Linked DNA regions of Homo sapiens: region 1 is linked to region 2. Evidence: promoter capture Hi-C in human tissues and cell types (Jung and others, 2019). All regions are on one chromosome and are shown on one strand. The core of a region is centred on a gene start or on the middle of the fragment in contact, and the rest is flanking DNA. Distances in the headings are between cores, read along the strand shown. Region 1 overlaps INSC (INSC spindle orientation adaptor protein). Region 2 holds the start of CYP2R1 (cytochrome P450 family 2 subfamily R member 1).

What was found. The method cuts DNA at HindIII sites, captures the fragments that hold promoters and counts their contacts. A contact is called where the count stands out against the background at its distance.
Region 1: a contact is called between a fragment that was not itself captured here and the fragment with the promoter of CYP2R1 in region 2, in 1 of the 25 tissues and cell types used here (H1 embryonic stem cells).

What each region holds. Positions count from the first base shown.
Region 1 is chr11:15,162,077-15,166,258 of GRCh38, forward strand. The region is part of intron 2 of INSC (INSC spindle orientation adaptor protein); the gene reads left to right. Among named protein-coding and RNA genes, the nearest start is that of INSC, 49 kb to the left of the region's middle. The HindIII fragment of the contact is 3,139 bases long and covers 1-2,981 here.
Region 2 is chr11:14,890,471-14,894,557 of GRCh38, forward strand. CYP2R1 (cytochrome P450 family 2 subfamily R member 1) reads right to left here and starts at 1,761. Exons shown (of 5, transcript NM_024514.5): 1 at 1,511-1,761. The coding sequence starts at 1,735. It also overlaps a transcript of PDE3B not described here. RefSeq lists a silencer at 1,269-1,508. The HindIII fragment of the contact is 8,315 bases long and covers 499-4,087 here.

The sequences.
Region 1 (4,182 bases), core at 162-2,661, 270 kb after region 2:
TCCTGTTGGGTTATAGAGAAGTATATGGGCTAGATGGACCCAGCTGACATCTGGTGACAAGAGTTCTTGGGGGACCTGGGAAGTATTTTGTTTACTCAGAATAAAACCCAAAGTGCTTACAATGGCTTCCATGGCTTTATGTGATCTGGCCTAATCCCTTCTATGAGCTCCCCTCCTACTAATATTTCTGTTGTTCTTTCTACTCTAGCCACACTTATCTCCATACTGTGTCTCAAACAAAGCAGGCATCTCCCTCTCAAGGCCTTTGCACTAGGCTCTGACCGCCTGCAATGGTCAGTACCCATATTTCAGCTAATTCTTTCACCTCTTTGAAGTGTTTGCTCAATCTTAGCTTCTCAATGAGCCCTGCTCTGACCACTTATTTAAAATGAAAATTACTTACCTGCTTTCCACTTGACGATTGTGGTACCCCTTATTCTACCACTACTTGTTAATAGAAATCATCTGCTTTTAACATACTGTATTCATTTTTATTTATTGTATTTATTATTGTTGTCTGTCTTCCCCTGCTATGATGTACTCTCCACAGGGGCTGGAATGTTCGTTCGTTTTGCTTACTAATATATCCCAAGTAGCTAGAACAGTTCCTGGCACCTATTTAGCCCTAATTAAATATTGTTGAATGAATGAGACTTGTGAGAATATTCAGGGTGAGACTTGTGACAGTATGTTGGCCATGCACTCTGTATGGATGCTGGGAGTGCCTGGAAGTTTTTAGAATAAAGTTCTATGAGAGGGCAGTCCAGTAAGAGGGACTGGACTTCTTGAAAAGAAGAGATGTTAGGTCTATTAGATTCACCGTGTCACAAACTGAACCTATCATTGTGTCTTCCAAATTTATTTCTCCTATCCATTCAGCTGCTCAAGTAAAAAATCTGGTTCTCATCTCTTCACTCTCTCTCATTCATCATCTATATGAATCAGTGTCCAAGTCTTACTGATTTTGTCTTCTTAATTATTCTTGAAGGATTTTTGCCCAACATCACTCTGTCATCAGAGCTGAGAATTTCTACTCACCTTACACTTGAAAGTCATTTTGAATGAATATAAAATCACTGGCTCACACTTTATTTCCTTGAGTATTTTAAATATGTAACTCTACTTTTTCTGATATAAAGTATTGCTCTCAGAATCTGATGATAGTGGAATTTTCTGTCTCTTATGGGTAACATGCCACTTAGTTTTAGATACACAAACAATTTCTTCCCTCCCTGCCTCCCTGCCTTCCTTCTCATTCTTTTCCCTTGTGCAATAATCTTACTATCTTACTACAGTATGTCTTGCATGTTTGCTTTTATGTATGTAGTATATTCTTTCAATGTGTAGTTTTAAGTCCCCTCCCCCACCTGAAAGTTTTCTGATTTATAGTTTTAGTATTTACCCTGTTTCTGTGCTTTGAATTCCTTCCTTAGGAACTTACATTGTGTGTTTGTTGGATCTTCTTACCTAACTTTAATATTTGTTGTTTTCTCTCAAATTCTTTTTATTTTACTTATGTATTTATTTTTTTGAGATGGAGTCTTGCTCTGTCGCCCAGGCTGAAGTGAGTGCAGTGGTGCGATCTTGGCTCACTGCAACCTCCGCTTCCTGGGTTCAAGCGATTCCCCTGCCTCAGCTTCCTGAGTAGCTGGGACTACAGGTACCTGCCACCACGCTCAACTAATTTTCTGTATTTTAGTAGAGACAAGGTTTCACCATATTAGCCAGGATGGTCTCGATCTCCTGACCTCATGATTCACCTCGGCCTCCCAGAGTGCTGGGATTATAGGCGTGAGCCACCATATCTGGCCTCCTTTAATCTCTTTCTTCATTTTTTATTTTCAAAGTTTTCTTAATTTTTGCATTTGATTTTAAAGGCATTATCTTATGTGTTTCTTCTTGTTTAGCCTTTGTTTCTAAAATGACTTTCCCCTCTTTATTTCTAATTCCTTCCTGAGTTGGGACATTTCCTTTCTGATAATTTATGCTTCTTGTTCCTGTTTTTTATAATTTCCTTAAAATTTTAAGCTTATTTTGTTATAGTCTTATCTGTTTTAAGAGTACATTTTTTTTCTGGCATTTTCTCATTGTAGAGATATTATTCTGCTCTTTATTCTCTTTTTAAAATAACTATATATGGGATGAGACTACAATAACTTTCTGTTGCTCACTTTTAAGTGAAATTAGTTTTCATGAACCTTTAGAAGAAGGCAGGGTTCAGGAAACCTATTCTAACTTTATAGAACTCCACCTTCTTTTGTTTTAGTATAGGGTCCAAAAATATGATGACCTGCTCTCTGAGTGTTCCTATCTCTGCTTTCTTCCCTCACATTGATCTGAACATCTCGTTCCTGTGCCTCTGTTGTCCCTGTCCCACTGAATTTGGATTCCACTCTCAGGAGTTTCTCCTTAATGTGGTGCTTTGTTGTGGTAGAGATTCCTGGTGGGTCAGTTTTGAGAGTTCATAAAACACCCTATACTCAGCTATATTGGAAAGGCAAATCTCCTTCTAGTTTCAGCCACTGTTCTCAAATTCCCATACTATGCTTTCCAGTAAATACCCAGAGGCTATTTTGGGTTCTCCTTTCTCATGTTCTTCAGATGCCACCTTATTGCTTCTTTCTTCTTCGTCTCATAAGATAATATGATATGGTTTGGCTGTGTCCCCACCCAAATCTCATCTCGAATTATGGCTCCCATAATTCCCATGTGTTGTGGGAGGGACCAGGTGGGAGGTAATTGAATCATGGGGGTGGTTTCCCCCATACTGTTCTCATGGTAGTGAATAAGTCTCACGAGATCTGATGATTTTATAATGCCTGCCACCAGTTAAGATGTGCCTTTCGCCTTCTGCTATGATTGTGAGGGCTCCCTATCCATGTGGAACTGTAAGTCCTTTAAACCTCTTTTTCCTTATAAATTACCCAGGCTCAGATATGTCTGTATCAGCAGCATGAAAATGGTCTAATACATGATACCGAGCAGGTCTTACAGCTGTTGGTGGTTTGTCCCCACTTGCTGGTATTTCGAAGTTTGTGGGGATAACTTATGATCTAGTTTCATTATAAATATCATCCATGGGGTAGGGGTTGTCATATAGTTACTCTGTCAGTTTTCATGTGGGGGTTTGAAGAGATTGGAAAAATATGCGCCACCACTGCCATCTTTCCAGAATTTTCTTCATGTTTTTGACTTTTAAGTAAAAAAGGTTTGATGATACACAGGCTTTATTAGAACTTCTCTAATAGAGACTAACACTTAGAGTATTACCCATCAGGCAGTATATATTATGTGTATATACACATAATATATATAATCACTTCACTTAATAATCACCAAAAGCCCAGAAGTTAGTTATTATTATCTTTCACCATTTGCTAGTGAGGAAACTGAAGCACTGAGTGGTTGTATAACTTGTCCAAAGTTACGTAGCTAGCCAGTGGCAGAGCTGGAATTTGAATCCAGGTAAACCAGCTATAGAGTTTCTGCTCTGGTGGGAGCAGTGGTAACCAACAGGAGTCTTCACCATGCCTAGAAGACCCAGTGGCATGCCTGGTGGTGGTACCCTGGTACCTAAGAGAGGTAGCAGTAAGAGAAGAAGTGATGAATGTAACAGTCTGAGATGTCCTGTGGAGTCCAGAGAGCATGACATTCACTGGAAGGAATGGCAGCCATGCTGGGTGGACATGGCAGGGCATGGCAGCTAGGATCATGCCCAGTGTAAGGCTGCTAAGGAAGAAAGGGTGTCAGAATCATTCAGTTCCACCTTGTAGTTGCTGAACCAGTCTTTTGGGGGGTGGTGGGGGAACATATGTTAGATGAACTCTGGGGACTCTTAGATGCACTTGAGCGAGCCTCATGACCCATCATGATGGGATGAGAGTGAAGTTGGGCTATCTTTCTTATGTCTGTCTCTTCTGCTCGACTATGTAAGCTTCCTGGGGGCAGGGATCACCAGAACAAGGCCTGGAACATTGTCAGTGTCAATAGTGTTTCATTGAATTAAGTTGACCAGGGATTGCCTGAGAGATACTGCTTAATGTTTTAAACCTTGTTGAACTGGTTGAGAATATTCTATGTTGGTTCCTGGTGTCATGTGGGGACAGACACTTCTCAAGGGCTTGAGAATATATACCCACAACTCACCAGAGCACTGTTTGCCTTTACATTCAGGCCAGGCTC
Region 2 (4,087 bases), core at 511-3,010:
TATTCGTGAACCATGAAAGGAACGTAAACCATTAGTGACTTTCTATTCTAGAAACCTAGACCAATTCTTTTTTTTTTTTTTTTTTTTTTTTTTTGAGACGGAGTCTGGCTCTGTTGCCCAGGCTGGAGTGCAGTGGCGCGATCTCGGCTCACTGAAAGCTCCGCCTCCCGGGTTCACGCCATTCTCCTGCCTCAGCCTCCCGAATAGCTGGGACTACAGGTGCCCGCCACCACGCCCGGCTAATTTTTTGTATTCTTTTAGTAGAGATGGGGTTTCACCGTGTTAGCCACGACGGTCTCGATCTCCTGATTTCGTGATCCGCCCGCCTCGGCCTCCTAAAGTGCTGGGATTATAGGCGTGAGCCACCGCGCCCGGGCACCTAGACCAATCCTTGTAAAAATTGGTTTAAGTAAGGATTTAAGGTCAAACCTGAAATACCACAGTTGCCAAACATCCCTGTACTTTTCCTTCAAAACACTGACCACAGCCTGTGGCCGATAATGAGATTAGTTTTCTCTCTCCCACTCATCTGCCAACTCCTTAAAAGGCTGTATCTGCCTTCTTCACCGCTAGCGTCAGGCCTGTAGTTGCATATAAATAAGTGTAATTCAAAACAAAACAGGTGAGCTCTGTCCCAGGACCCGTGGAAACTCCTGCCCCCTCCGGACGTCGGGACACCCACACACAAGCGGTGGTCGCCTTTTCCGCTGCCAGTCACAGGGCATTTCCGTGCTGCTTTCCCCTCCGCAGAATGAGGAGGAGCGAAGTACCGACCTCACCGGCTGGTTATGAGTTTTAAATGAGTCACCAAGTTGGCAGTGACAGTGGCACACAGAAGGCGCCTTTTAAGTATCTGCTAAGGTGCCGTTCCCAGCCAGTCAGAACGGCATTACCATCTGCGCTGTAGGACCCCCGCAGCGGATTTTAGTCATCAATTCATTCACGCGTTCACAATCGTTTCCCAGGGCCCGCTTCTCAGTCAGGGGCGTTCCCCTGCATTCTCCATTCTCACAGCAAACGCCTACACCAGTCGTTCGTCGACTGCAGACACCGAAGAACCTGCTATTAACCATCTAGAACTCAGAACGCCTTGATTTTCCGACAAGCCGCGTGCAGCTTCCACAGAGCTGCGAGGCCGACTCGCAAGACGCCCGCACCTGAGGGCATGCGTCCACCCTGGACCTGAAGTGGCGGCGCGGCTGGCGAGCCAAACGGCGCAGGCGCAGGAGCAAGAGCTCGAGCGGTAGCGGGAAAATCAGGACTGGATCGCCTCGGAGCCTCGGCCCGGAGTGGGTCACCGGCAGGGGCGGGGCTCCCCCTGCAAGGGGGCACGGCGTCGAGGACTTCTCCCTTCCAGACCCGGGAAGCGGGTGTCCCTCAAAGGGCAGCCGGCACACGGAGAGGTCCCGACTAGTCGGCCCAGGGGCGGCCATAAGTCCAACCAGGAAGGCCCTGGCCAGCCCGGGCCAGCCTGGCGGCCCTCCCTGCCCGGGGCCCGTCGGGGCTGTACCTCTCCGTACACCTGGCTCTGCTTTCTCATGTAGACATGGGGAAGCTCGGATGAGGCTGCCAGGGAATAGATGTTGCCGATAAATGGCAGCCCCGGCGGCCCCGGGGGGAAGCCCATCGGCCGCCTCTGCTTCAGCAGCTGGCGGACCCCTAGCGCGAAGAGCAGCAGGAAGAGCGCGCCGCCGAGCGCCGCCGCGCCCTCTTCAGCTCTCCAAAGCTTCCACATCGGCCCGAGCTGGAGGTGCGAACTCCACAGCAGCCCTGAGACCCAGGCACTCCCTCCAGCCCTGCCATACTCCCATTGGCAGGATACCCTCAGGTCCCGCCCTAGCTCCGTGGCCATTGGCTGACTGAGTGAGCGCTCAGGCCCCTTCGGGACAACTACCTTCTAGTTTTGCGCGGCTGAGAGTGGACTTTGCGGAGCGGGTGGCCGGTGCTACCCTTTGGAGGTGGCGCGGCTCTAGGCGGAGCAATGAGCCAGGAGTCCGTTTTCTAGAATGTTGACACAAGGGCATTGACGAGGTGTCAGGACGGCCTCACTCACTGGGCTAGGCGGATCCTGCCTCTCTGGGGCCAGACCTTTCTTAAAGTGTCTTTTTAAGTACCAGGTCTGCTTATTTCATTTCACACTAGGAAAACTGGAGAGATGATCAACACTGCAGTCTTTAGCTGAACCTGATACTTTTCAGAATTTCCAGTAGAAAATTGACCCATCAGTAGTAAAAGAAAGTAATTTTACTGTTTTGTCCTGTTTTACTATTTTTCTCCTGTTAATGTATTTTTGTGTGTGATCTTTTAATAATTGTGATGATTGAGCAGTTTATGTGATTAACTCAGTTTACCTATATTTGACCCCTCTCTGGTCTTTCCAAACTGATTACTTATTGGCAATCACGGGACTCTTGTCTGCACTTGTTCACGGAGAGTATTTACTATTCAAGATTTCTGCCTCCACTGCCTGGAATTAAGCAACTGATTTCATATTATTCTTGCTAATTGTTTTTATTCCTGTTTTCTATTGGGCAGTTCCTTGCAATACAGGACTTACTGGGTTTGGGACTCTTCTAACAGCTGCCCTCTAATTGTGATTTAGCAGTGGCATGAGTTTTATGGTCCTCATTAGCTTACGACTCATTCACACAACAAATATTTATTGAATGTCTACTATGTTCCCATGTCCTAAGCAATGGAGATACATAGGTGAATAAGAGCAACAAAGTCCTTTCTATAACTTACATTCTTATGAGAGGGAAGAGCAATGACATGGAAATACAATAATTTTCAATAATCAGAAGCAAACAAAAAGTGCGTTATAGAAAACGCCTGGTGGTTGGGGAGATACTTTAGCAGGCAAGGGCTGTCAAGGAAAGTCTTATTAGGAAGATGACATTGGAGCTGAGATCAACTGCTAAAGAAGTGTATTTGTTTCCTACTACTGTTGTAATAAATTACCACCAATCTGATGGCTTAAAACCACACAAATTTATTTTCTTACAATTCTTGAGGTGAGAAGTCCAAAATGAGTCTTCCAGGGCTGACAGAGAGGTGTTAGTGGGGCTTCATTCTTTCTAGAGACTGTAGGAGAGATTCTATTTCCTTGTCTTTTTCAGCTTCTAGAGGCTGCCCACATTCCTTGGCTTTCGTCCCCATTCCTTCCTCTTCAAGGCCATTAATGTCAGTTTGAATCCTTCCAACATCGCTGTCTCTCTGATTATCTCTCTTCTACTTCCTTCTTCCACTTATAAGGATCGTTGTGATTATATTGGGCCCACCTGGATAATCCCAACTCAAAGATCAGCTGATTAGCCCTTTAATTCCATCTGCAACCTTAATTCTTCTTGCCATGAAACCTAACATATTCACAGTTCTAGGGATTAGTATGTGGACCTATTGGGGGAGGGGAGCATTATTCTGCCTACTATAGAAGAGAAATTTGAGGCAGATATGGGGGAAAATATTCCAAACAGAGGAAATATCAAGGGCAAAGGCTTCATATACTAAGCAAACCTTGTCCTCTGAGAGTGTTTCCAATTTCTCTCCATCTCCCACGCAAGGACACTGCGGAAGTCAGCAAGTTAGTCAGGTCTTTGAGTTTTTCTGTTTAACTGGCTTGTGACTATCCCCAGGGGCTGAAGTTACCCCCACAGGTATGTGTCACAGTATCTGCAGCCACAGAATATCTACCTACTGCCTATTACAAATGCCTATTAAGAGATACCTTAAAATTCTTATTAATCAATAATCTAATAAAATGAAAAAATAATTGTGAGAGATCATTACTAAATTTGGTCTCTAGTTTCTTACCAAAGGCCAGTGGAGATGACACAGGATGGATATTGGGACTGTGGGTGGGAGGCAATGCTGCTGAGGCACCAGGAGCTGAGGAATATCACCTATGGGATGCCTGAGATCAACCCTGCCTTTGCAACACCAGGAGGCTTACAGTTTTTGGTCTGGCCACAGCTGTTATACAGTACAGGTACTTGGTTCAGGAGTGGGCCCCCTGCCATCATTTATTTTCAGAAAGGATTAATTTTCATTACAAAAATATCCTCCAATTCACTTAAATTAAGGAGCA